Regions from separate parts of the Homo sapiens genome. Here regions 1, 3, 4, 5, 6 and 7 are each linked to region 2. Evidence: promoter capture Hi-C in 16 types of primary human blood cells and fetal thymus (Javierre and others, 2016). All regions are on one chromosome and are shown on one strand. The core of a region is centred on a gene start or on the middle of the fragment in contact, and the rest is flanking DNA. Distances in the headings are between cores, read along the strand shown. Region 1 overlaps LINC02250 (long intergenic non-protein coding RNA 2250). Region 2 holds the start of NDN (necdin, MAGE family member). Region 3 overlaps LINC02250 (long intergenic non-protein coding RNA 2250). Region 4 holds the start of SNORD109B (small nucleolar RNA, C/D box 109B). Region 5 has its middle 22 kb from the start of LINC02250. Region 6 overlaps LINC02250 (long intergenic non-protein coding RNA 2250). Region 7 overlaps LINC02250 (long intergenic non-protein coding RNA 2250).

The links. The method cuts DNA at HindIII sites, captures the fragments that hold promoters and counts their contacts. A CHiCAGO score of 5 or more calls a contact.
Region 1: a contact is called between a fragment that was not itself captured here and the fragment with the promoter of NDN in region 2, in 1 of 17 cell types (total B cells). The highest score is 9.4, in total B cells.
Region 3: a contact is called between a fragment that was not itself captured here and the fragment with the promoter of NDN in region 2, in 1 of 17 cell types (M0 macrophages). The highest score is 5.9, in M0 macrophages.
Region 4: a contact is called between a fragment that was not itself captured here and the fragment with the promoter of NDN in region 2, in 1 of 17 cell types (M0 macrophages). The highest score is 6.2, in M0 macrophages.
Region 5: a fragment that was not itself captured here is called in contact with the fragment with the promoter of NDN in region 2 in 2 of 17 cell types (M1 macrophages and M0 macrophages); the score reaches 7.5 in M1 macrophages.
Region 6: a contact is called between a fragment that was not itself captured here and the fragment with the promoter of NDN in region 2, in 3 of 17 cell types (naive CD8 T cells, M0 macrophages and M1 macrophages). The highest score is 7.5, in naive CD8 T cells.
Region 7: a contact is called between a fragment that was not itself captured here and the fragment with the promoter of NDN in region 2, in 1 of 17 cell types (total B cells). The highest score is 6.2, in total B cells.

What each region holds. Positions count from the first base shown.
Region 1 is chr15:25,476,011-25,479,965 of GRCh38, forward strand. All of the region lies in intron 4 of LINC02250 (long intergenic non-protein coding RNA 2250), which reads right to left. Among named protein-coding and RNA genes, the nearest start is that of UBE3A, 39 kb to the left of the region's middle. The HindIII fragment of the contact is 1,717 bases long and covers 1,464-3,180 here.
Region 2 is chr15:23,684,928-23,689,075 of GRCh38, forward strand. It overlaps NDN (necdin, MAGE family member), which reads right to left and starts at 2,378. Exons shown (of 1, transcript NM_002487.3): 1 at 473-2,378. The coding sequence starts at 2,290. The coding sequence ends at 1,325. The HindIII fragment of the contact is 2,633 bases long and covers 1,109-3,741 here.
Region 3 is chr15:25,514,409-25,518,483 of GRCh38, forward strand. It overlaps LINC02250 (long intergenic non-protein coding RNA 2250), which reads right to left. Exons shown (of 5, transcript NR_187215.1): 2 at 2,040-2,237. Among named protein-coding and RNA genes, the nearest start is that of LINC02250, 62 kb to the right of the region's middle. The HindIII fragment of the contact is 3,957 bases long and covers 575-4,075 here.
Region 4 is chr15:25,278,274-25,282,267 of GRCh38, forward strand. SNHG14 (small nucleolar RNA host gene 14) reads left to right here. Exons shown (of 148, transcript NR_146177.1): 146 at 574-611. It overlaps SNORD109B (small nucleolar RNA, C/D box 109B), which reads left to right and starts at 70; the gene lies at 70-136. The HindIII fragment of the contact is 1,377 bases long and covers 698-2,074 here.
Region 5 is chr15:25,598,937-25,602,807 of GRCh38, forward strand. No RefSeq gene overlaps it. Among named protein-coding and RNA genes, the nearest start is that of LINC02250, 22 kb to the left of the region's middle. The HindIII fragment of the contact is 208 bases long and covers 2,346-2,553 here.
Region 6 is chr15:25,495,330-25,499,428 of GRCh38, forward strand. All of the region lies in intron 4 of LINC02250 (long intergenic non-protein coding RNA 2250), which reads right to left. Among named protein-coding and RNA genes, the nearest start is that of UBE3A, 58 kb to the left of the region's middle. The HindIII fragment of the contact is 2,206 bases long and covers 1,407-3,612 here.
Region 7 is chr15:25,536,502-25,540,380 of GRCh38, forward strand. The region is part of intron 1 of LINC02250 (long intergenic non-protein coding RNA 2250); the gene reads right to left. Among named protein-coding and RNA genes, the nearest start is that of LINC02250, 40 kb to the right of the region's middle. The HindIII fragment of the contact is 1,709 bases long and covers 1,737-3,445 here.

The sequences.
Region 1 (3,955 bases), core at 1,072-3,571, 1.8 Mb after region 2:
CTCAGAATGCTTGCAATCACTCTGTCACCTGTAATCAAGGTGCTGTGATAAGATGCATTTGTATTGGCTGTTCAGTGTTTCCTACATGACTGACATAAGTTTGTATGGTGAGCCAGGCCATGAACTCTTGGCACTAGGGAGTAATTCCTTAAACACTGGCAAAATTCGTTGCAAGATAAATCCTAAGTGCATGTATTTTACACCATAAATTTGAGGTAGCAGGAAAACAAGCTACTCTTCATTTTGAAGTATTTATTCATTCTCTGATCTTTTTTTTTTTTTCTTGAGGTGGAGTTTCGCTCTTGTCCCCCAGGCTGGAGTGCAATGGCATGATCTTGGTTCACTGCAGCCTCCACCTCCTGGATTCATGCGATTCTCCTACCTCAGCCTTCCGAGTAGCTGGGATTACAGGTGCCCACCAGCAGGCCCAGCTAATTTTTGCATTTTTAGTAGAGACAGGGTTTCACCATGTTGGCTGGGCTAGTCTGGAACTCCTGATCTCAGGTGATCCACCCGCCTCGGCCTCCCAAAATGCTGGGATTATAGGCGTGAGTCACTGTGCCCGGCCTTCTCTGACTATTTTTAAATGCTAATTTTTAGTGTTGGGAAGAAAAACTAGGAAAAGGAGTGCTTTATCATAAGCTCATCAAGAAAAAGGGTTATGATAAAATTATTTTGGTTTTGGTTCTTTATAAAATGTTTCTGAAAAATTGAAATAATAAATACAATGTATCACGACAGCACGAAAGTCAGATGTTAATTTTTCCATATTTTGTTATTCAACAGAAAATCATTAATGATATGCAAAAACTAGGAGGAAGTGTTTAAAAAATAATGGGAAACTATTAATTCTCACTTTCCATAGCTCCTTTCAGCTTCTGAAACTAAGAACATTAATTTTCACTCAAGCCTGTCCAAGTCCTAAGAAAATCGTAACCAATCCTAAGCCCATATCAATAGGCTCTTCACCAGTTGGTTAAATCTGAATCAGTCTGTAGCCAAGAGTCTGTTGTGTGTATCCCAAGCAGGGCCCAGACAGAGGAAGAGAGAAATCCTGAGTCCATGCACCTGCCAAGTTTCAGTTTTCTTCTGTTCCAGTCTTTCTGGCATCCATTTCAGGTGCCGCTGACCTAGGGGGAAGGGCTACTGTAACCCACTTGAGAGGATGGTCAGCCATCACTCAAATTAACACACTTAGAAGGGCCCAGGAGAATCAGGTTTGTCTGGCGTTCAGCATAACTGTTAGAAAGTGCTAAGAAGCAGAGGGGTGTTTTTTGGTGTTCCTGCAGGCCTGGGAGAGTGGGCTCTTTGCCCTCTGGGGTGAGCTTTTCTCTGCTCTCACCTACACTGACAGATCTGCCATTTCTTGTACTACATCTGCCCTCATTGTCTTCCAGTCTCAAAGGATTGAGTGTCCTTCCCCTGTTGGAAGCTGGCCTACTCAGACTACCATGGTGGCACCAAGCTTTTACACTAAGGACGTTGTGAAAAATGAGAATTTCTGGGCCTTTCCCCCTTTGTGTTCTGATGCTGGGTGTTGCCCAGGGATTTTTGTCTTTAGCCCCCCCAGGAGAACTTCCCATAGGATTTGGTGGGCCTTCCTTGAGAAATACTCCCTGCTCCATGGAGAGTAACCATCCTCTCCATATTCATTTATTTTTATTGAGTCATTCCCTACTCTGTAAGTATGCTCACTTCCCCACTGAAAACAGAATCCTCTCTCAACACCTCTTCTCTGCATTCCTTTATAGTTGACTTCTCCCGAAGAAACAAACCCCATGCTTGTTGCCTGTTTCCCCACCTTTCTCCTCAGTTCTCTGCAGTCCAGTGTTTGTCCCCAGTACTCCACATTTACTCTTATTATCCTCCAAACAAACAAAACTCACCAGTCAGCTCCAATCCAGACCCTCCAACAAAGCCTGCAGAGCCCCGTTCCTGCCCCCTGGTCACGTGCAGCCCTGTCCTGTTCCTTGCTGTCTGCTGCCTTAGGGTCCCGGCTTCCGTATAGCTTCCTGATGTGCAGAGCCCTTTTCTGCCTCAGGCCTTTGCACTGCAGCTGTCTGGAGCTTATGCCCCCCACCGCAGGCTTCCTCCTCACAAGGGACTATGTCATGTTCTTGGTGTGACAGCATCCATATCAGAAAGAGGCCTTGCCTGTGAATGTGATTTAAAGCAGCTATCATTCTCTCTCTTATAGCTCCTGTTATTTTCCTTCAGAGTGCATTTCCTAATTTATATATGTTTTAACAAATTTATTGATACTTCCCCTCACTAGATTCTGAGTTTTGAAAGGCTAGTGGCCTTACTCGTGTAGTTCATCACTGTACCAAACCCAGTTCCTGAAACATGGTAGATGCTTTACTTGGAGACATAGTGAACCAATGATGCTGTTTTGATGGAGGCCAACTAATGACTCCCTAATTTCCACCTTCTCCACCTGAATGCAGAGCTGCCTGGGTGAGAGACCATGGCAAGCGATGACTCTGCAGAAAATCTGTGACTTAATATTTGCCCTGAGTGTTCTCAGTTCTCTGACAAACAAAGCCAGACACCCGGCACTTCACATCACTGTGGCTGATCCCACTGGTAGAAAGGCCTTGGGGAATGTTGTGTTTTAATGATTTCACTGAAAATAAAACTAAAAGCCTAGTTTCTTCCTTTGTACAGAAAAATGGTACTGCTGATGTTAACCTTGTGATTACAGGATAATTTCAATAAATTGCTAGAGACTTTTTGTTTTTTTTTTTGTCTTTGCAGAGTGAATGAAATACAGAGAGAACTACATCCTCCACTTCCTGTGTAGCATTGAGGTATTCAGATCCCCCTTAGGAAAGAAGGTTTCAGGAGCTTTGCCTCTCAGCATCCCTGTACACACAGCCTGGTTCCTGAGCACAGTGCCTGTCGTGTTCCCATCTAAGCCTCATTTCCTTTCCTTCTTTAGGGACATGAATCTGCTAGCAATAAAAATATCTAACTGGGTAATAATGTATGCAGGGTACACTGTTAGTGTTCCTAACTGCTGTTAAATGGTGATGGGCGTTAACTGGCATTTTGAATACAGCCCTTACAAAGCCTTTTTTTTTTTTTTTTTCCCCACTAAAGCTGGTGCCTGCGCAGGTGTCTAAAAAACATGCACAACCCCACAATGGAAACTGCAACAAGTTCCTAGTCCCTTCAAGAAGCTTTCTCAGCACATGAGACACTCTGAATGAGAGTCTGGACATTTGGTTGTTTTATTATTTAAGAATGTCTTAGAATGTAATAGAAATGAAATATAAATAAGAAATATAATTATGGCAAAGAAAGAAAGTAAATGACCACTATTGCTAAATGGCAAGGCTAGAAAACCCATGAGAGTCCCTTGTCCAGCATTAGTTTAGTAGAGATGGATACAAAATAAATAAGAAAAATCACTATAATACAGTTGGTTTCCTATGTGCTTCCTGGGATGTGCTTTACACACATCAAGCCCCTGTGATGCTGAGCAGAAACAGGGGCTTCAGGTTCACACAGGTCAGCTCTTGAGTACGTCTTTGCTACTCCTTGCAATTTCCATTATCACTGCCAACTTATCTGGGTCCTTCATACAGTTCATGTGAATTATTGGTAGTGAATAGCTCTTAGTGCTAGGACTTAGTAGCTGGTCAAATGAGGAGGGGAAGGACAAAGAGGCTGTTCATAAATGTACTGAGCATCTACTAATCTGTATCAGGCCTTGTCCCAGATGCCAGGGTGGGACTGATGAAGACCTAGGGTAGACTCTGAGGACACACAGGGAAGGGTGTGCTGAAGCTCTCGGGTTTGATAATGGGCATGTAAACGGGATTCACAGAGAAGAGCAGGTTTGGGTGAAAGATGGTGAGTTCAGACATGGGCACTAAGGACTTGGATTTCCACATGATGATGACTGGCAACACCCCCAAATAAAAGACCAGAGCAGAAGCAGGGGCCAGAG
Region 2 (4,148 bases), core at 1,128-3,627:
AGAATGATATTGCTTTCTCCAAAATATCATGAGAATTAGAAAAATAAAATTCCTAGCCTTTTTGTATGTGTGGCCCATGAACCCATGTGATTGTAGGCTCCCACATAAAATGTAAAAATAAATTTAAAAATAAATAACCTAAAAGCCACGGGGTATAGGGCAGTCGTAGGCAGGTGGAGACAAATGTGGGCTCTGGATTCATTCTGAGTTCAAGTCCTAGCTCCTTCTCTTATTAACCTTTATGAGCTATGGAAAGTTCATTACCTACATTATTCCTGTGTTTCCTCCATGGTGCAGAGGCAGTAGGTGCCTGCCTGACAGGCCTGTTGCAAGGATTAAAGGAGAAAAATACATGTTAGGGCTTAGCACAATGTCTCACTCTTTTATATTATAAATATGTTATATGTATATTAATAGATGTCACAAGACATCTATTAATTTTGATAAAATGTAGAAACTTAAGGGAAGGAAATTATTTTTGTTTTTTATTCCCATATGATGTGATTACAGACAATCTTACTGTTTTGTTTTGTATACTTTTCTATATTTGTGAATGTTTTTGAAATAAACATGAGTTACATTTAAAGACAATAGAACTATAAACTTCACAAATTTAGGAGTAATCATGAGTAGCGATTTTTCCCACCCTATTAGGGGAAATAGTTGTATCTGTATACACTGTAAAATAGAGAATTGTCTCATTCCCAACCATACTGCTTTGTTAAAATGATAAAGTACACTTTTCCAAAAATGATTGTATCACAAGAATCTTTAATGTTTACTTTAAAGTTGACTCACGGTGGGGTTGTATATGTGTTTAGTAAAGTGTGCCAAGTGCTCACACTGAGACCAGTCCAGTTCAAATTAGTGTACTCCACGAGGGTGTTTTCTGTGCCCAGCAAGGTCATGAAGGGCCTTGACTTTTCTTGGTTAGGCCGGCTTTGCTGGTGACTTCTTCCAAACTCTGCAGGAGCAGTCTACCCCAACACACATCATCAGTCCCATATAAAAGAATAAGATGGAAACTTTCTCAATGTATTTCATCAGTTTAGCACATCTCTGGTACAAAAATCCAAGAAAGGTAGCACAAAAGCGAAAGCACCAACCAAGCTTACATATAAACAAACATGCATACATCCTAAATACTACACAATAGTACCCAAATGAATACAACATTGCATTAAAGGTATAAAAGCACTGTACTGAAAACTTAAAAGTTACACGTGAATACTGCACTGTAAATCCTGAATACTATAATGACCCACCCCCACCCTTCCACAGCCCTGGTGAGGGTCAGAAACCATTCATCTGCCTCCAGACTTTGCTAGTCCTCAGAGACACTGCTGCGAGGGTAGTGGGCAGTGGGATTAGCCTCCCGCAGAGCTCTGGCCTCCTCCAGAGCTTCTCTGTATCGGGAGGGCCAGGCCTGGGGGTCTTTCTTAAAGACCCTGGCCAGGAACTCCATGATTTGCATCTTGGTGATTTCGCGGCTGGCCCGGGAGCCCCAAAAGAACTCGTATTCGGGCGGCTCCACGTATGGGACGCGCTGGTACTTCAGGTAATTCATTTGGACGAACTCCTCAGTGATGAGCTTCCGCACGTCCCCGAAGGTGGAGTGCTTCTTCCAGGGCCGCAGCCCCAGGATGCGCAGCACGTTCCAGACGGCGCTCTCTCTGGCGCCGCGGCCCTTCACGTAGATGAGGCTCAGGATCATGAGCAGGAGGCCTGTCATGGGCATGCGGTTGCTCAGCGCCACCCTGTCCAGCTCCTCGGGCTCCAGCGCTTTGACCAGCGCAAACTCCATGGTGTGCAGGCTGGTTAGCCTCAGGTGCAGCCCGAACACCCGGGCGAGGATGAGGCTGGTGCGCCGGAGGATGCTCCTGCACCACTTCTTGTAGCTGCCGATGACATCTTTCACCATGTCTGGAAACCAGATGATCATCTTCTTCTGGTCCTTGACCAGCACGTACCACATGAGCTCGTGCGCCTTCTGCACCAGCTGCGCCGGGGCTGGCGGTGCCGGGCCCGGCTGGGCCGCGCTCGGGGCCTGGTGGGCGCGGCCCTCCTCCGCAGCCTGCTGCAGGGCCTTCGGGTCGCCCTCGTCGTTCGGGGCCTGGGGAGGCGGCGCGGCCTGCGGAGCGGCCGTCGGGCCTAGAGGAGGGCTCTGCGGCTCTGCCAGGGTCGCGGACGGAGGAACCCCCTCCGAAACCCCAGGGCTGCTGTGCACCTCGGAGTTGGGGGCCTCGGCTGCAAAGTTAGGGTCGCTCAGATCCTTACTTTGTTCTGACATGTCTGCGCCGTCTGGCAAGGGCAGGGCCTCTGCGTCCAGGAGCTCTTCGAGCCTGCGCTCCCTCCGCGGATTCCTGGAGAGGAAGTGCGCGTTGCTGCGCGCGGCGCCTTCCGCAGCGACGGGCAGGGCGGGGCGGCGGCGGGACGCGGCACTGCGCCTGCGCGACCGCGGCCTTGGCCAGCGGCTGGGGGCGGGCGGGGCAGCGCGGGGCCCCGACGGGGAGGGTCCATGGCGAGGCTTCACCTGCTGGGAGAGCGATCCCGGGGTTTCCTGTTTGGGCTGAGAAGATCTAGGGCAGGAGAGAAGTGAGATGGATGCGTACTGGAGAAGGGGCCAGTTTAAGGGAAAGATACCTTAAGTTTTTGGGATGTTGGGGTCAAGTTTCTTGGGAAACGCTTACCTGGGTATATCCAGAATTAAGTTAAATATGAGAGTCCCAGAGAAAGGTCTGGGCGGCTTTGTAAACATGAGCTTTATGCGAACCAGTGAGAGGAACAGTCGGGCTTGTCCAAGAAAATGTGTAAACTGTAAAGTGGATGTCTGAGGTTGGAATCCTGAGAAATTCCAATAAAAAATGATCGACTCCCTACCAAATCAGATAGGCTATAAGAAAAGGGGAAATGCAGTGTGTCGTTAACGTAATTTCCTATCAACCCATGTGAACTATGAACTTTTTAAGTAGGCAGTGGACTTAGAGCATCATTAATGCTTTAACGGGCATAAATTTGGGTTTTACACTTCCTTTGGGTAACTTTGATTCCATTTTATTTTTTTCCATACTTAGTCCATAGCAGAAGGATTGCTATATCTTTTAGCACAAACTTGTATGATAATGTCTTTTCCCTCTGCCCAGCACCCTCATTCTTCAATTCACCTTCTCTCAGGACCCTCTCTGAAGCTACTGAGTCCTCCACGTTGGAAGCCACACCCAAGTCTTTCCTGAGATTTAAAAAAAAAATAGGTCCCATGGGTAATATCTGGTAGTGTCTCTGAGATGACCAAAGGGTAGCAGGGGAAACATAGGTAACCCTGTTTTCCAGGTATGGAAAACAGATTCCCAGTGGGCAAAGACAAAACTGTCACTCCTACAGGCTCTCCATGAAAAAAAGGGTCATTGCCTGAGCATCTGAAACCAGGGACCTTAATGCTGCTTCAGCATCCTTGGTCTGGGCTGATGTGGTCCTTCAGCTCTTCCCGGGTTTCTTCTCATCAGCAGCTTCTTAAATATGCTGTCTTGAATCTAGTTATTGCCACTCGAAGCCAAAAGCATATTTAAAAATTGTCTTGACATGTCTAGAGTCCTCACTGTGAGTATGTATCTTTTCCCACTTTATTTTTCCTCAAGCAGGTTGATGTTGAAAGGTTTTCTGTGCTTTCTCTCTTTGGGTTTGCACGCACATAACACTTTTGGCAGAGCCATTACCACACCAGTCCCTCCAACAGGACTCTTAAGCTTCCCACTTCACCAGGGTAATTCCTAGATATCAGTCTTAGTTGGAATTATTTCAACACTTTTCTCCTCCTCCTCACCCTCCTCCACCTCCTCCTTCTCCTCTCCATCTACTTCTCCTTTTTCTCCTTCTTCTATTTATAGATATCTACCATTTTCTTGGGAACATCTTACAGAAATATGCTAATTATATTCATTGTTTTTAAGAATGTCTCTTGAACAGACTTATTACCCCCATGCTTCATAAATATAATCCTCATTTATTGCATTTAAATCTCCATCAATATTATTCTTTATTTTGTTTGGGTATGTATTATTTTCTAACTATTTAAATAAAATATTTAGGCCAGGTGCGGTGGCTCACGCCTGTAATCCCAGCACTTTGGGAAGGTGAGGCGGGCAGATCAC
Region 3 (4,075 bases), core at 1,303-3,802, 1.8 Mb after region 2:
TTTCCTGTTGCCTGTCAAACCCAAGCTGCCTTTGTTGGAAAAGATAATTAAATTGGAATCAGATGTCTGCAGTAAATATTTTATTCAGAGCCGTAGATGACAATAGAGGAAGTTGACTCTCAGTCCACCTTCAAATTCCCACCTTTGTCAAAGCTCAGGGCCTGAGCTTGGAGTCTACTCAGTGAGCTTCTTGTTAAACAATCAAGGGACACCACTGGGTGCTTATTAGCTTATTAATGCTAGCATGTTGTCAAAATGCATCTTTGTTCCTGTAAGAGTGGACGAAACCTGTCTTGGAATGTGTGGAATCCAGATCGACTAGGTACTCTAGCCAGCATCCTCCCTGTGTGCCTTCCTCATGCACCCCGTTTGCTTCCTGTGTATCCGGTCCCTCCGAGGGGATCCGAGGGGACCAAGGGTTCTGCTCCCCTCCCTCACTGAGGCTTTCCCCATGTGCCATCGTGGTACTGGAGCTCGGTGCCTGCACACAATTTTCTGCCTCTCGTGGATGGCTCTGCCCTGCTCCAGCAGGTGACAGTCATGATGGTGACTTTGGCGCGGTGAATGCCCAGGAAGCTTGTTAGATTTCTTTTCTTCATGTGATGCGTCAGCTCTGATACATCTTATAGGATGGGAAAGTAAAGAGTGCTTAGGGGGCAAGTGGCTCTTTCTTTTGAGTACAAATGGTAGTTTTCCTTAAGGACTTTATATGAGGAAAAGATCTGTGAGGAGAAACCAGTATGCCCTGTCCTACCTTCCTCCTCATACTCCAAGCCCTCCGTCATCCTCACAGTATCGTTGCTCTCCCTCCATGCCTGGGACCCTGGAAGGACGAGTAACTGGCCTAGCCTCTTGTTTGTTAGCAATGGAGAAAGGAAGCCAAAGAGTGAAACACATGTGGGAGACCCAACCTAGGAGACACAGGATCAAGACATGGCTCCTTGTAATTAGGTACATCAAACTGAAAATCTTCTGCATGGCAAGGGAAACAAGAGTGTAAAGGCAACCTACAGAATAGGAGAAAATATTTGCAAACCATATACCTGACAAGCAGTTAATTTCCAAAATATCTAAGGAACTCCTAAGACTCAATAGCAAGAAAACAAATCATCTGGTTAAAATATGGGCAGAGGACTTAAATAGACATTTCTTAGTTTTGCCTCTCTCCGCAGAGAAAGACTTTCTAAAAAACAAAAAACTCAAAAAACAACAACAAAAAAACCCTCAGTGGGGTGAATCTGCTGAAGAAGCAGGGAGACCTGGCCAGAAGCTGCCTTGGGGTGACATAAGGGAGCTGTGATGCCCTGCTGGCCTGGGACAGCACATGTGTGCACTGTGACACGGGGAAACTTCAGGAGCAGGGCCTGGGAGATGGCACTCAGCACGGCGAGGGAGTTGTGCCTTAGGATGGCCTGGATAGGGCAGTTTGCCTGTGAATGGGGAGGGTGATGGGAGTCACTGGCTTGCTACAGGTTGCACGTTCTGCCTGTGAGGTCATGCAGGAGGGTGGAGAGCCATCCACGACATGCCAGTCAATGGGAAAAATACCGTCTCAGTAGTACTTTTGAATTGTTTGAGTACTTGCTTAAGGTGAGCAAGGACCTTAACCTTGACCAAACTTTAGTGAGGCTCCTTAGTGCCGTCCCCCCAACCCCGTTTTTTTTTTTTTTTATTTTACCTTATCCTTGGTCCTGTCTTTGGTTTGCCTAGCCCAGTGCTGACAAGAAACCCTGTTGTCTGTTTAACAAGAGTCCCTGTACCCTTGATGCCTAATCAAGTTCCTGGTGTGAATTTTCCATTTGTTCCTTCCCTCTGCTGATTATCCCCACCTGTCCCTGTTGTATGCAGTCGATGAGTTCAAGCTCTCTCCCATTGACAATAGACTTAAATGAAGTCTTCCTTTCTGTTTTAAAAAGTGTCAGAATAACTTCTCTTTTACATGGCCTAGGGCCTAACACTCTAGAAGCCCCATTAGTGTAATTCCTTTCTCCCTTCAACCGCATTTATCCATTTCCCCTCTGCCCCCTACCCTTCCTCACCTCCAGGTGCAGTTGAAAGCCATGCTCCATTAAGTGGAGAGAGATTTGACCAGAGCCTGAGTAGGGAATATCTCTGTGTGCCTTTTTTGTCCATCTTAGAGGCATCTGATTGTAACACAAGCTGGAAGGGTTTTATGGGGTGATCTCTTCTTCCTTGAACATGGTTCACTCTTCAATATCAAGAACTCTGTGCAATCTCTTGAAATAATTAAAATAGAGTGGATGGTTAGGTGATGTTGCTGCCTGCCAACCTTCTGAATGAGGACCTGGCGTTCAGAAACTAGCTCAAATGTGTCACTCTTGGTATTTTTTCTTTGAAATTCCCCAACATTGTTTGAGTCCACCCTTCACATTTAATGTATTAAGACCTTATACATTGTAAGACATAGCGAGTTATTGGATAAGAAATTGTGAACACATCACTTTGACTTGTAAGGATTCATGTCATACCCCAAATGGATGAGTTGACTCTCAGGGATTGTAATTAATGGGCTTCACCAACGATACCTGCTAATGGACAAAGGGTCATTCAGCACAGACAATAACTTTGTCCCAAGTATGTGTTTTATAAGGTGGTGGCTGAACTTTAAGTCAGAGGTAGGAATATCATGGACAAAAGAAAAATATTCTCTAATTTTCTATTCTGAAATCGATTTCCAGCATGAGAATGGCATACAGTGCATACAGCATTCCCCTGCCACTGAACGCTCATGCCCAGCTGCATTTAGGTTTTGAAGGAGGCCTACTTTGAGGTTCAGGATGTGTAACAGCCCTATGTTGGCGTTACTGTTAAAAAGTGAATCCAGCCCCAGCTTCCTGCGGATAGTTTGAGTTTATGCCTTTGTCTCAGCATTTTTATTGATAGTGCCTTGTTCACCCTCAAAGATAGTCAGTTTTGGCTGATTTTTAGATCATAGGGTTACCCTAGTTACAGCACGTTGATGAAGATGTTGTACAGAGTCCTTTTCATGAGGACTTTTCTCATTTTCTTAATCCTCAAGACCAAGGATGTTTGTACTACTTCTTATTAACAATTTTGTCATTATGTTGGAGACAAGGAGTGATTCATATAACAGATCAAATTTCTGTTTTTGCACTGAGTTTGTGGGAAACTCAGAACTATCTCTAGTAATTCTACAGGTCTACCGTCTATGCATTTTTGTTTGTTTGTTTGTTTCTGAGATGGAGTTTCGCTTTTGTTGCCCAGGCTGGAGTGCAATGGCACGATATCTGCTCACCACAACTTCCGCCTCCCGGGTTCAAGCGATTCTCCTGCCTCAGCCTCCTGAGTAGCTGGGATTACAGGCATGTGCCACCACACCCGGCTAATTTTGTATTTTTAGTAGAGATGGAGTTTCTCCATGTTGGTTAGCCTGGTCTCAAACTCCCGACCTCAGGTGATCCACCCGCCTCGGCCTCCCAAAGTGCTGGGATTACAGGCGTGAGCCACCACGCCCGGCCCCCTCTGTGCATTTTTATATGATCTCAGTCTATTTGCTCCAAATTCTTGACTTTTTGCCTATAGCATTGTTTTTAATTTTTCAGACTGCCTTGAATTGACTCTGGACAAGACAATTATAAAACAATTATAAAGGCTAAATTTAACATTCATAGGCAAAAATGAACCTTAGCCTAAGTCTTGTACATTATCTAAAAACAAATTCAAAATGGAGCATAGACATAAATCTATACAACATTTTTTAAAATAGGGGAAAATGTTTGTGATCTAAGGCTAGGCAAGAGTTCTTAGACTAGACACCAAAAGCAAGATCTATTTTTTAAAAAGTTTGTAAACTGGGCTTTATTAAGTTTGAAAATGTTTTCTTTTCTACGAAACACTTTGTGAAGAAAATGGAAATACAAGCTACAGACTTGAAAAAAACATTTTCAAACCACACATCTGACAAAGTACTCCTATCTAAAATATAGAAAGAACTCTGAACTCAACAGAAAACAACAAGAATCGAATATGAAAATGGGAAAGAGACAAACATTTCATCAGGGAGTATATTCAAATGGCAAATAGCCTATGAAAG
Region 4 (3,994 bases), core at 136-2,635, 1.6 Mb after region 2:
GCATTAGATAACCATGCACAAAATAAGCCTGGCTGTGGAAACGCTTATTTGTTGGGAGGGTGCTTGTTTGGATCGATGATGAGAATAATTGTCTGAGGATGCTGAGGGACTCATTCCAGATGTCAATCTGAGGTCCAGATGTGCGGCCCTCCAATAGGACAAATAAGACTCTCAGAGCCTGGCTCTATTTGGGGATCCCTCAGTGACAACATAGTACCCCTGTGAGCGTGCCTTTTCTATCTCTTCGAAGAGGGCAGTGGCATCCTGTCTTATGAGTCAGTGTGCACTTTAGTGTGCCTAGTGACCCAAGACTTGCTTTAATTGTAGATAGATACTTACATATAGGAAATATTTCTTAAGTAACAAATGAAAAACTTTAGAAGATTGAATTAAGGGTCAAGCAACTGTGATATGTCTGAAAATCTCATTAGTGTTGTGCTGAAAGAAGGAAATATGGCATGCCTCTATTAAATAATGACAGTGGAACCAAGTTTATTGCTTTGTTATTTTTACTGTGGAGTATTTTCTAAGATTATTTTTGCTTTTTTTTTCTTTCATGTTTTGCTGAGATAGAAGGCCTGGAATCTGATCCTCCACTTCAGAGAACAGGGGTGAGTAGCTAAGCCATTATCTTTTGAAATTCATATGTCATGTGCTCTTTGCTAGGTCTTTAGGTCGTTTTGTACATCTTTTCAGAAGCTTATTGGAGGACATTTTCATGATATGTCCTTTTCCTCATTGAGACCCTCACCATGTCACCTACACTATTGAATCCTTATCATTTCTCTTTTAATTTTAACTCTCTTTTGCTTTTATGGAAAAATGTAGAATTTAAGAGAATTTTTGGCAATTTCATATTGGATCAAAATGTATTGTAGTGAAATCCAGGTGTGCCAAAATATTAACAGATTTTCCCCATCTGTTTAATTATTGGGGTTTCAGAATAGAGACTCCATGGTTCATAATATCTTTGTGGTCATACTACATTATATTTCTGCTTCTAATTTAATTATTAAATATTGACTTGAATTAGTCTTTTCCTCATTGTTGCAACAAGGTAAGTTATATAGGAAATTTTCTTCTCTTGATGGCATGTCTGAGATAATCATAGATATAAGACACCTGGCTGGTTTCTAGAATGCATGTAATTTTTATTTCTTGATCTGTGTGTTGAGTACTTGCTGTGATTGCATCATGCAAATACATTGAGCTTTACAATTTTAGTGTATGCACTTTTCTACATGTATATTATTCTTCGATAGAAAGTAAAAAAAACTTATCGAACTAGTCAAAATATTGGTTAATACATAAAAAAAGTCTCAAGTAGATTGTGTATTACATGGTGCTTGTTGATTGATGCCCTCATAATAGATCAAGTGGGTTCTCTCTTTAGCACAGGGCTTTTTAGCAAATCATGTCATGAGTAGTTACTCAAGTATTTTTATTTTAACACATTTATATTTTTTCTATGTATATTCTTAAATTCTCTTATACTTTTTTCTCTGTTATAAAAACATGCTGAACAATCTCAAGTCTTAAGGATTGCAGTATTGTCCCCACATATTCATGTATTTTGGTACTCAATTCTTTATACTTTCTTTGACAGATCACTTGAACTGGCACATGTCTCTTGTTTTGCAGAGAGGGAATTAATGTGATACCTTCATGCTTTTCTATTCTATGTGCTACATAATTGAATATACAAGCAAATATAGTTGTTAAGATTTAGTGTGATTATTTCTACACCACATGCAAAGAAGTTTCTCATAGATCTTAATAGAGGCCCACATGCATTGTACAGTTTAGAATTTGGGGAAATATTGATGAAGTTGGGTAAAGTATAAAGCCAAAAGTCAGAACAGTGAACTCCTTGCTTAAGGATTTCCTTGGAGATTACTTAGTCAATACACAACTGATAAATTTAAGTGCTTTTCACCTTTTGAGTTCTCGACATACTAAAGCTAAAATGTGTTTCAACTTTTAATCCTGCTTCCCTGATTTTCCCTTTTTTAGTCTGAGATCAAAGAGTTTCAGCCATAAATTACTGCCAAGAGTAATCACTTCATTTTAAGAAAGCTTAACAATATAGAAGAATATAAAATTATTTATGACAGATGTATTTTTAACCTTTTCCCCATGCTTTCCAGAGGAAATATGTTTAATCATCTGCCCTATATTAGGGAAAAACTTTCTATGCTAATACAAGTATCTATCAATCCATTTATCTTTCTATATAAGATGTATTGATCATAACCAATTAACTTTACTGTAAATGAGCTTTAGATTTGACATTTTGGTAGTAATATATGTTGTACAATCTCCTGAGGTCCTATAGGTCTTGAGGTCTCTATGTCAAAAACTATAGATGTGCCAGTGTCCTCAGTGAATGTGAAGGACACCACATTTTCCTTAGCCATTTCTTGTTTTCAGAATAATGGTTATCAACATTTTGCTACTGCAAGATACCATACATTTATAATCGGAATATGCCAGTTTTTATGCACTCATGCCTCTGTTTCTGTAGAGCATTCCCAGAATGAGTAATGCTTGAAAATTAGGTCCATGTGATTTCTTTAATGAGTTATAGTCAAATCATGAAATATTCAGGTTACCATTATTTCAGTAATGTATTAGAATGTCAAGGTAAAGTTATCTACATTGTATATATACACACAACATAGATATAATTTATACAACATCTATATTTATACAACAGATATATATTTATGTATATATTTATACAACATAAAATATATTTTATTATTTAAACATAAAATATATTTTATTATTTAATATAGATTCTTAAGTGATAAATATGTTTAATATTATTAAAATAGGTTAAAATAGGTTATAGTTAGTACAGTGAAAATTGGCAGCCCTTTTACAAAACATATGCCATAACTATAGCATTTATCACTGACAGTCATACCAGGATAGTCTTTTATTTCCAATCACTTAAATATTCCTAATTGCAAAAGAAATTTGAAGACTAAAATTCAGAAGTTTTGAAAGAGCCATTGCCTGGGTAAACTATACAGGTTTCAGTTTTATTTATAATAATTATGAGGCCAGGCGCAGTGGCTCACACCTGTAATCCCAACACTTTGGGAGGCCGAGGCGGGTGGATCACGAGGTCAGGAGATCGAGACCATCCTGGCTAACACGGTGAAACCCCATCTCTACTAAAAATACAAAAAATTAGCCGGGCGTGGTGGCGGGCGCCTGTAGTCCCAGCTACTCGGGAGGCTGAGGCAGGAGAATGGCGTGAACCTGGTAGGCGGAGCTTGCAGTGAGCCGAGATCGCGCCACTGCCCTCCAGCCTGGGAGACAGTGCGAGACTCCGTCTCAAAAAAAAAAATTATGTATATATTTATAAATTAATACTTAATAAATTAATAACTTGTGATAGGCAATGCAAAGATGACAGTAAAAGGACAAAATTGATTAGATTGATAAAGTCCTGTTAACATGAAGAAATTGACCAGGATACCATCCACACTATAAAGTTAGAGAAATTTATCAGGACAATTCCCTAAAATACTCTTCTCAATTTTAACATTGTAACAGGAATTTTTAAAATTTTGGTATTATGTGTGTTTCCTTCCAGATAATTTGAACAGATTCATATTTGGTATTTTTAAAAGCCATATCTTTGTCCTTAGTGCTGGCAATGTATTCTTGAGAATGAACAAATAAGAGATACGTAAAAGCATAAGAGAAGGTATCAGGTTGAAGTAGTCAATCAGTTATACAGAACACAAAGAATTTTATCTTGTATAATGTTTATATAGCTTTATAGAAGTGTGCTGAAAGGGCTATAAAACATGGACATTATTATCTCATTGAAAGGTCCAATACGTACTGAAATACATGCTTTTATTTTGAACCAACCACCCTATAAACGTTGTATGGCTTATTTAGATGAGAGCCCAGGTTGTGTGTGTCTGTGTGTGTGTGTGTGTGTGTGTGTGTGTGTGTGTGTGTGTGTGTACCT
Region 5 (3,871 bases), core at 1,200-3,699, 1.9 Mb after region 2:
TCGGTAGGTCTACATTTGTATACAAACATTAGCTTGTCTGTATTGCCTTGAAAAAGCTGTTGAAGAATTTTTTCCACTGTCATAAACCAGCCTAAGAGGCCACTGCTGAAACTCTCTTGACCCTATTGGTTTTTTATAGTTTACAGAAAATTAGTTGTGTTTTGTCTGTTTGTTTTCATTTTTGTTTTTTTGGTTTTTTTTTTTTTTGTAGAGATGGGGTCTTGCTATGTTGCCCAGACTGGTTTTGAATTCCTGGGCTCAAATTATCCTCCTGCCTTGGCCTCCCAGAATGCTGGGATTGCAGGTGTGAGCTATTGAGCCCAACCAGGAAATTAGTTTTTATATGCCTAGAGTACTTATTGCAACACCAAAATAAAGGGTACATTGTGTATGGACTTTGATTCCCTTTCTTTAAGTAACCTTAGAAGGCATCAACGTAGAAAGAAAGAGAAGTTTCTGAAAAAGTTTTCAGTTTAGGGTTTATTGCTAAAGGAACTCGAACCAAAGTGCTGGACTGAAGCTCCTGGGTTATTCTGACTCAAAGCATCTTTGGGGCCTATAAGCAACATTGTTAACTGCTGATATTCATGGATGGCTTAGTAAAGTAATCTCACAGTATTGGCACCCAGACAAAGATGAAGGAAAGCCCTTCAATACAGTTACAACATGACTTCATGGTATTTCTAGAACTATCAAGTCCGATTTGGTATGCTTTTAAAGCTTGGGAAATATTTTCAATAGTCAAGTTAAAGTACACTTGATGAAAATGTTTACACTAAACCTAACTGAATCTTTTTGTCTGACTTCTGGTTTATAGAAAACACAGGGAAGAGAGCACCAAATAAAATGACGCCACCGATGACACTGCCATACAAATCCAGAATGTGGGCATTTCGTGAGACATTGTCCTGGCCTCTTCTAACGTCATAATCAAAAGGGGCTAAGAACATGAAACAGCCAAATGCAATCTGTGAATCTTGGTTCTTTCTATGTTTTTAAAAATTTGAGCTATAAAATCATTTCTGAGACAACTGGGAAAATGTTGGTATATACTGGATATGAGATGATATTAGGAAATTGAGGTTAATTTTTAAAATTGTGATTATGCTACTGTGGTCACAGAGGAGACTGTTCTTTTTCCTAGAAAACGCATGCTGAAGCAGTGAAGTGTCGTAACAACTGCAACTCACTTTCTAATGATTCAAAAAACACATGGATAGTTGGCCAGGGGCAGTGGCTCATGCCTGTAATCCCAGCACTTTGGGAGGCCAAAGTGGGCAGATCTCTTGAGGTCAGGAGTTCAAGGCCAGCCTGGCCAACATGGTGAAACCCCACCTCTACTAAAAATACAAAAATTAGCTGGGTGTGGTGGCACACACCTGTAATCCCAGCTACTCAGGAGGCCGAGGCAGGAGAATCACTTGAACTTGGGAGGTAGAGGTTGCAGTAAGCTGAGATCGTGCCACTGCACTCCAGCCTGGGTGACTGAGTAAGACTTCATCTCAAAACAAAACAAAACAAAAAACACACAGATAGATTAGACAGATACAGAAGTAAATACGACAAAATGTGGAATATTGAATACTACTGTGGGTATGTGAATGTTCACTGCAGTAATTTTTCAGCTCTTCTTTATGTTTCAATTTTTTATACTAAAATATTGGGCAGAAAATTAACATTCAAGTTACTTTTGGGTAGTCAGTCTAAGCTACAAACTTCTTGCTAGGTAGACAAGTCCAGGTTTGTTCTCTGGCCTCTTGAAGAATTTTTTTGCTGATATACAAAGGAACGCCAGGAAAAGAAATTTAACTTGAGCAAGAGAAGGGAGGCTCATAAGAGAGTTCCAACACTTAGAACTGAACCTCAGCATGGAAAAGACAATTTGGAGCGTGGAAATGTGGGGTGCTACTCACCTTACTCAACTTGTCCTTTGAGACTGGGTGGAAGGAGACTCTGAGTCATGTCATTAAAATCTACAGAAGACTCAGCACCCACCATTGCCAGAAACAAGGGAGGAAGGCCCACATGGTGACTCACATCTGTAATCCCTGTAATCCCAGCACTTTGGGAGGCAGAAGCAGGTGGACAGCTTGAGGCCAGGAGTTCAAGACCAGCCTGGGCAACATAGTGAGATCCCTATCTCTACAAATACTGTTTTTTTAAAAAAAATAGTCAGGTGTGGTGATATGCAATTGTAGTCCCAGTTACTTGAGATACTGAGGTGGAAAGACAGCTTGAGCCCAGGAGATCAAGGCTGCAGTGAGCTATGACTGTGCCACTGCATTCCAGCCTGGGCAACAGAGTGAGACCCTGTCTGTGAAAAAAAAAAAAAAAAAAAAAAAAAAAGCTTTGGCTGGTTGCAGTGGCTCATGCCTTGCCTATAATCCCAGTGCTTTGGGAGGCCAAGCAAGGCAGGAATGCTGGAGTTCGAGACCAGACTGGTCTACATGGCAAGACCTTAGTGTAGAGGTTAGGCTACGTCTCTGCAATCCTGCACAGGACCTACAGTAACACAGTCTTGTGACTGCTGTTGGGGTCCTTTTATATAAGTTAAGCTTTTGTGTTAATTTTACTTCAATTTATCACAAACTTCTACCCTGAAAAAAATATATCTGGGCAAGTGCCACTTGTCAATAAGAATGGATAAAAAAAGTTTTTAAATTAAAGCGTGATCTTGATTCTTTAAGAAACCTGTTGCACCTTCAAGCAATCTGGTGTGCATTCTTTCTGCCCTGCTCCCTTTCCTACTCCTACTTGTCTGACCTAGCCATCCTTTCAAGGTTCCCACCCTATTTCTGCTCTCTCCAGCTTTCTATCCTGGCCTATAATCTCATCTCCTGCACCCCTCCTCCCCAATCTATTCAGCCCACCACATTCAAAGCAATCTTTCTCATGTGTAATACCAACCATGTGTCCTCTCTCCCCCCTCCCCATTTTTTTTTAGCTTTATTGAGGTATAATTGGCATAAAAGAAACTGCACATAATTAGGTGACTGACTTCTTTCACTTAGCATAATGTCTTCCAGGTTTATTCATGTTGTCACAGACTGTAGGCTTTCCTTCTTTTTTTTAAGGCTGGATAATATTCTATTACATGGATATACCAATTTTTCTTTATCTGTTAATTTTTCAACGGACATTTGAGTTGTTTCCATATGTTGGCTATTGTGAATAAACCTGCAGTGAACATGGGAGTGCAGCTATCCCTTCAAGATCCTGACTTCAATTGTTATGGATGTATACCCAGAGGTGAGATTTCTGGATCATATGGTAGTTTAATTGTTAATTTTTTGAAAAATTTTCATACTGTTTTTCATGATGGCTATACCATTTTACATTACTATCAGCAGTATACAAACCTCACTAATATTTATAAATATTTTTATAGTAGCCATCCTAATAGGTGCAAGATAATATCTGATTGTGGTTTTGATGTGCATTTCCCTGCCGATGGGTAAAGCTGAGTATCTTTTTGTATACCTGTTGTCCATCATTTGTAGGTGTTCTTTGGAGAGATGTCTATTCCAATCCTTTGTTCATTTTTTAACCAGGTTTTTTGTTTGCTTCTGTTTTGTTTTTGTTTTTGCTATTGAGTTTAGAATCTCTTTATGTATTTTGGAAATTAACCCGTTATCAGATATATGGTTTGCAAATATTTTCTTCCATCCTATAAGTTGGCTTTTTACGCTGTTGATAGTTTCCTTTGCTGTCCCACTTAAGCTTTTCCCTCATGTTTTCTTCTAGAAGTTGTATGGTTTCAGCTATTACATTCAAATCATTAATCTATTTTGAGTTAATTTTTGTGTTTCATATAAGAAAGCATACAATTTCATTATTTTGCACGTGGATATTCAGTTTTCCCAACACCATT
Region 6 (4,099 bases), core at 1,260-3,759, 1.8 Mb after region 2:
AATGAATCTACTTTTATCACAGCAGAAACTCTTGAGCAGAAACCTCCACGGGCGCCAGTGCCAGCATGGGAAAAGCTGAATTGTAACTGGCAAATTGCCGGAGGTTGAGTGTGGAAAAGATGGAGTTAAAAACTCCAGGAAGACCCAGGTATAGAAGGGCTCTTATACTTCTATGAGGTGTAACTACAGGCACTCTCCCAGCTTCTCAAAGCAAGGATCAGAGAAAAATTCCCTTATGCTTCTCTCACAGGGAGGAGAAAAGCAACCACTTTGAAACGTGCCAGAGCATTCTTCTTATTACAAGGCCTACCCTGAGGAGGAACTATTTTATCAGAGCCTAAATGCTGGGGTTTTATCAGAACCTAACCTACCCAGGGGAAGGGAAATACCTAACACCAGTTACCTGTAACCATCCTGTCCTATCTAAGGGATGGGGGGCAACTGAGAAGCTCCTATGAAGTTCACAGTCCACTTTAGGAAACTAGCAAAAGAGGAGCAAATTAAATCCAAAGAAAGCAGAAGATAAGAAATAACAAAATTACAGTAGAAATCAATAAAATTGGAAAGAAAATCAGTAGAGAAAATCGACAAAATTATAAGCTGGTTCTTTGAAAAGATCGATAAAATTGATAAGCCTCTGTAGCTAGGCTAAGAAAAAAAAATTACCAGTATCAGAAATGAAAGAGAGAACATCACTACAAATCCCATGAACATTAAAAGAATAACAAAGGAATATTATGAACGACTGTGTGCCCACAAATTTGATAACCTAGATGAAATGAACCATTTCCTTGAAAGACACAATCTGCCAAATCTCTTTTAAGAAGAAACAGACAATTGTAATAGGCCTATATCTATTAAAGAAATTGAATCGATAATTAATAACCATCCAAAACAAAGCATCAGGCCCAGTGGGTTTGCTGGTGAGTCCTACCAAATTTTTAAATAAGAAATTATACCAGAGGGAAGACTTTGCAATTCATTCTACGAAGCCAGCATTACCCTAATTCCAAAACCAGACAAAGATATTCCAGGAAAAAACTACAACAAATACCTGTCATAAACATAAATGCAAAAATCCTTAACAAAATTTTAGCAAATCAAATTAACAATGTGTAAAAATAAGTATACATCATTACCAACTAGGATTTATCCCAGTTATGCAAAGCTGGTTCAACATTCAAAAATCCATTCATATAATCTATCGCATCAACAGGCTAAAGAAGAAAAAAATTATGTGATCATATAAATAGGCGCAGGAAAAGTATTGGACAAAATCCAATACCCATTCATGATAAAAACTCTCACCAGACTATGAATGGGGGAAACTTGCTCACCCTGATAAAGAAAAGCACATCTATCTAAAAACCTACAATGAATATTATACGTAATGGTGAGAAACTCAAAGCTTCCTCGCAAAATCAGGAATCAGATGTCCCCCTCATCATTCCTTTTCAGTGTTATACTAGAAGTCCTAGGTAATGAAATCAGGCAAGAAAAGGAAATAAAAGGTATACAATTAGGAAGGAAAAAGTAAAATTGTCTTTATTTGCAGATGTCTACTAGATAATCCAAAAGAGTCCACTGAAGAACTCTTGGAACTAATAAGCAATTATAACAAGGTTGCAGGATACAACACAGAAAAACTTAATTGCTTTCCTGTACCAGCAATGAACAGATGGAATCTGAAATTAAGAACACATTACCACTAACATTACCATGCCAGAAATGAAATACTTAGATATAAATCTAACAAAATATGTACAAGATCTCTATAAGGAAAGCTACAAAACTCAAAACTGATGAAAGGTATCAAAGAAGAACTAAATAAATTGAGATAGTCCATATTCATAGACAGGAAGACTCCATATTGTCAAAATGTCAGTCCTTCCCAACTTGATCCATAGATTCATTGAAATCCCAATCAAAATCTCAGGGAGTTATTTTGTGGAGATCAACAAACTGATTCTAAAGTTTATATGGAGAGGCAAGAGACCCAGATTTAGCCATATTGGTATTGAGAGGGAAGAACAAAGTGAGAGGGCTGACAGTCTACCTGACTTCAAGACTTACTATAAAACTACAGTAAGCAAGACAGTGTGGTATTGATAAAAGAATAGACAAATAGATCAATGAAACAGAACATGGAACCAGAAATAAGCCCAAATAAATTCAGACAACTGATTTTTGACAGAGGAGCAAAGGCAATACAATGGAGCAGAGATAGTCTTTTCAACATGTGGTACTGGAACCATTGGATATCCCCATGCAAACAAATCCATCCAGATTCAGACCTTAAACCCTTAACAAAAATTAACTCAAAATGGGTCACAGACTACCTGTGGAACACAAATTATAAAGTGCTTAGAACATAATACAGGAGAAAAACCTAGATGACCTTGGGTATGGTGATGACTTTTTAGGTACAACACCAGAGACACAGTTCATGACAGAAATAATTAATAAGCCGGACTTCATTAAAATTAAAAACTTCTGTTCTGCAGAAGATAATTTCAAGAAAATAAGAAGATAAGCTACAGACTGGAAGAAAATATTTGCAAAAGACACATATGATAAAGAACTGTTACCAAAAATATACAAAGGACACTTAAAACTCAACAATAAGAAAACAAACTACTCGATTAAACAATGGGCCAAAGACCTTAACAGATACTTGACCGAAGAAGATACACAGATGTCAGTTAAGCATATGAAAAGATGCTCCACAAGATGCCATCAGGGAAATGCAGATTAAAAAACAATGAGATATCACTACATACCTATTAGAACGGCCAAATTCCACAGCTCTGACAACATCAAATGCTAGTGAGGATGTGGAACAACAGGGACTCTCATTCATTATTGGTGACAATGCAAAATAGTACAGCCACTTTGGAAGACAGTTTGGGCATTCCTTTAAAAACTAAACATACCCTTACCATAATATCCAGCAGTTGTGCTCTTTGATGTTTATCCAAAGGAGCTGCAAACTTATGTCCACACAAAAACCTGCAGCTTCATTCATAATTGCCAACACTTGGAAGCAACCAAGATGCCCTTCAATAGGTGAATGGATAAATGAACTGTGGGACATTCATACAGTGGAACGTTATTTAGCTCTAAAAATAAATGAGCTATCAAGCTATGAAAAGATATGCAGGAAACTTAAACGCATATTGCTAAGTGAAAGAAGCCAATTTGAAAGCCTTTATATTATATGATTCCAAGTATGTGACATTCTGGAAAAGGATAAACTATGGAGATAGCAAAAAGATCAGTTAATACTAGGGATTTGGGGGAGAGAGAGATGAATAGAGCACAGAGGATTTTTAGGGCAATGAAACTATTCTATCTGATATTATAACAGTAGAAACTTGTCATTATACACCTATCAAAACCCATATACAACACCAAGAGTGAATCTTAATGTAAACTGTGGATTTTGAGTGATGATGTGTCAATACCATTTCAACAGTAGTAACAAATGTACCATCCTGGTGGGGAATGTTGGTAGTGGGGGAGTCTGTGCATGTGTGGGGTCAGAGGGTATATAGGAACTGTCTGTACTTTCTGCTTCACTTTACTGTGAACCTAAAACTGTTCCAAAAATAAAGCTTATTCATATGAAAAACCGTAAACGAAAACGAAATACACACACACACACAGGATGAACACACCCACTTGTGCGATGTCCTCTTAGTTTCTTTAGTATGCCCTCTATAGAGATTACCTGGCATGCTTTCAGTCTACCACTCACAGCCTTTACAGCCTGGAGATTATGGTAGTAAGAGGCTAACAACTATATAGCCATACCACCCTCCCATCAATTATTTAGTCAACAGGTATCTGTTGAGCATCTAATATGTGCCAGCGGTGCCTAGAGGCTGTGGGGTGGAAAATGAGTCAGCACTCTTTACAGCCCCTTGCCCACAAAGATGCGATCATCTGTGATATCATTTGGATGTTTTTTCCAATCTCATGTTGAAATGTGATTCCCAGTGTAGTAGGTGGGGCCAGGTGGGAAGTGATTGGATCATGGCGGCAAATCCCTCATGAATGGTTTAATACCATCCTCCTGGTGATAAGTGAGTTCTTGCTC
Region 7 (3,879 bases), core at 1,341-3,840, 1.9 Mb after region 2:
AGCTTGTCTTGTGTTAGACAGATTTGTGCTTCTTTCACTTAATTCTGAAGCATCAATAGAACTGGCGACTTCCTGACCGACCATCATGACTAGACCCGGGGGCAGTGAACATATTGTGGGTGCCTCTGAGTAACTTGTGTTTTTTTCTTGTTAAGTAGGTTTTTAAAATGCGTGTGTGTGTGCGTGTGTGCATGTGCACTGTGACACACAGAAAAGCACACAAAAAATAAATATACCTTATGAGATGTTTGTTGAAATATCTCATAAAGAACACGTGTAACATGATCATGTAGATTCATGAATAGAATATTTCCAGGAACCCCAGAGCTCCCTCCTTTTGAAAGATGGCTAAATGAGTTTTCTCATTGCTCCTGTAGAAGACGAGAATATGCCATCCCAAAATATGTCTCTTTAGCATAAGGATTATTTTGACCTGGTTATTTTGTGAAACTGCAGACACAGGAGAAACTCTGAAAATAAAAGTCGAAGTGACCCTTTTGTAAGGGGAAATTTACATTTGTAGAGAAAATCTCCATTTGCTTGGATGTCTCCTTTTCTGTACCAGGAAGAGAAAGAGGACTCTAAATCACCAGACTCTTATCAATGAAGAGGCAGCCGCTGAAATCTGCATAGCAAACCTGACTCTTGGGTACCCTGCTTTTCCTAGGCACTTGGCCATGACTGGCCTTCCCCACACCCTTCTTTCTCTGTTTTTAGCTTAAGATGGTATTTAAGACCAAATACTAAGACATCTCTTTGAGATTTACTCATTTTTCCCTAGGTATCTCCCATGTATATTTGATGTATTTATGTTGATACAGTCAGTGCTGCATAACTAGATTTCAGACAATACCATATTGCCTAGGGTGAAGTAGGCTGTACCATCTAGACTTGCGTAAGTCCACTCTATGATGTTCATGCAAGGAGGAAATCACCTAATGATGCATTTCTCAGCATGTAACCTTATTGTTGCATGACACGTGGCTGTATAGTCGTTTGTTTTTCTCTGGTTAGTCTATCTTTTGTTACAATGGATCCCAGCTAAGAACTATTTAGAGCTAAGTTATTTTCCTCCCCGACCCTGCTGTAACAAATTAGCATGAATTTAGTAGCTTAACACACTAATTTATCTCATAGTTCTGGAGTCAGGAGGCTGAAATAGTATCCATGGGTCTACAATCAAGGTGCGGGCAGGGCTGTGTTCCTTCTTGGGGCCCTAGGGAATAAGCTTTTCCAGCTTCCACACTCCACACACATTCCTTGGGTCATGGCCCCATCTCTGTCTTTAGAGCCAGCGATGGTCAGTCAAGTCTTTCTCACAAGGCATCACTCTGACATGACTTCAGTTGTCACATCTCTGGTTCTGACTCTCCTGCCTCCCTATTTCTCTTCTAAGGATTCTTGAGATTACACTAGGCCCTTGGGATAGTCCAGGATAATCTCTCCATTTCACAGTTTTCAACCTTAATCACATCTGCAAAGTCCCTTTTGCCATATAAGGTGCTGGCCTGAAAGGAAGAAGCTGATGCAAAATTACGTGGAAAGTCCACTTGGGGCCAAGCTTGAGGGCCTGGATTCAAGTAGCCCTGAATATACACTCAGAACAGCCACAGTTACTAGTGGATTTTTTAATGCAAAAAAGTGGGGCAGGAAGTGGGCTGATACAAAGTTGTTTGTTAGGAATTCTCATTGGTTTACAGGAATAACATTGATTAGTGATTGGCTATCCATTGTTAAGCTTTAGGATGTGTGTTATAGTGTCTGGTGTGGCATTATTGGGTTAATTTATGGCTACTTGTGGCAATAGCAAGCAGTTTCATGAGATGAACATGGGGGGAAGCTCATGGGGGGAAGCAAGACACAATTGCTGCCTCATTTTAAGGTCTCTCTGAGCCTGATAATTAAAAGGACTTGCATTACTCAGATAAAAGCTCTTTCCTCAAAAGTAACATGTTCATAGATTTTGGGGATTGGTGTGTGGACATCTTTTAGGGAAGGCATTAGACTGTCTGCTACCGTGACACTATCCTGACTTATCGCACTATGATTTATGTTATGTTGCCTGAAATTATACAACATGCACTTTTTTTGTATCTCACTTTTTTCTCGATACTGTGTGAGAGTCAGCATATTGTTTCATGTATCTCTAGCTGATGTATTCCTAATTGTCTAATGTTTTACTGTATGAATACACCACAATTTATGTATACACTCTAAGTGGATGGGCATTTGGATTGTTCCCAGTTTGGGGCTCTTACATAAGATGCTGCTCTGTGTCTGCTTGGGCCTGTGTCTTGGCGTTCCTAGAAGTGGCATTGCTGGGTAAGAGAATATACCACAATTGATGTGAGCACACATCCTAGTTTGCTTGGAACAATCCCAATTTATGCCTGTTGTCCTATCTGGTAAAAGCCTACATTCACTCTCAAAATATGGTCACCCTAGGCATAGTGATACTTATTTCCAACTCCAGTAATGTAGCCAGACAGTTTCCAAAGTGAGAGTAACTGGCCAGGTGCAGTGGCTCACACCTGTAATCCCAGCATTTTGGGAGGCCGAGGCGGGCAGATCACTTGAGGTCAGGAGTTTGAGACTAGCTGACCAACATGGTGAAACATTAGCTGGGCATGGTGGTGCATGCCTGTAATCCCAGCACTTTGGCAGGCTGGAGTGGCAGATCATTTGAGGTCAAGAGTTTGAGACCAGTCTGGCCAACATGGTGAAACTCCGTCTCTGCTAAAAATACAAAAATAGCCGGGCATGTTGGTGATGCGCACCTGTAATCCCAGCTACTTGGGAGGCTGAGGCAGGAGAATCGCTTGAACCCAGGAGACAGAGGTTGCAGTGAGCTAAGATCACGCCACTGCACTCCAGCCTAGATGACAGAGTGAGACTCCATCGCCCCCAAAACACAAAAAACAAAGTGGCAGTAACTTGTGCTCCAGCAACAGTGCGCTCCACATCCTCACCAAACACTTGTGATTGGCCGTCTTTCTCGTTGTAGTTTAATTTGCATTTCCCAATTACTACTAACAAGATTGAGAAACTTTTCATAAATTTATTGCCCATTTAGGACAGTACATTTTTTGAGAAATCTCTGGATCACTTGCTCATTTTTCAATAGAGTCGTCTATCTTTTCTTATGGATTCGTTAGGGATGCTTTTGATATTCTAGATCTGAGTATTTTGTTGATTACATGAATTGCAAATATCTTCTCTCTCTCTGTGGCTTGCCTTCTCACTCTCTTAATGGTGCCTTTTAAGGAATGGACATTCTTAATTTGAATGTGATTTGAATGATTTATCTTTTTATTTATGATTAGCCCTTTTTGTGTCCTATTTAAGAAATCTTTCTCTACACTCAAGACTGTGAAAATATTTTCCTTTATTACCTCCTTGAAAATATGTTGTTTTGCCTTTTATATTTAGGTCTACAATCTACCTAAGCTTGATTTTTTTATGTGAGAAGGTCAACTTTAATTCTGTTTTCAAAAGGGTAAATAATACAATTGACCCAACACTATTTATATAAAATAATATCGTTTTCTTCCCCATTGTTTGATGTACCACCTTTTCAAAAATCAAGGGTTAATATATGCACTGGCCTGTTTCTAGGCTATCTGTTCCATTTGTCATGAGTCTATTTGTTTATCCTTGGGAACAATATCATGCCATCAACTGAACTATTACAGTTTTATAATAAATCATGATAGGTGGAAGAGGAAACTCTCCCCTCATTATTCTTCTTAAAGCGTATCTTAAGTATTCTTAGTTCTTTGCATTTCCACTTAAATTTCAGAATTGTATTAATAATGTCCTTTAAAAAACTCATTGGGATTTTTATTGAGATTGCATAGATCAGTTGTTACCCACCTTCTT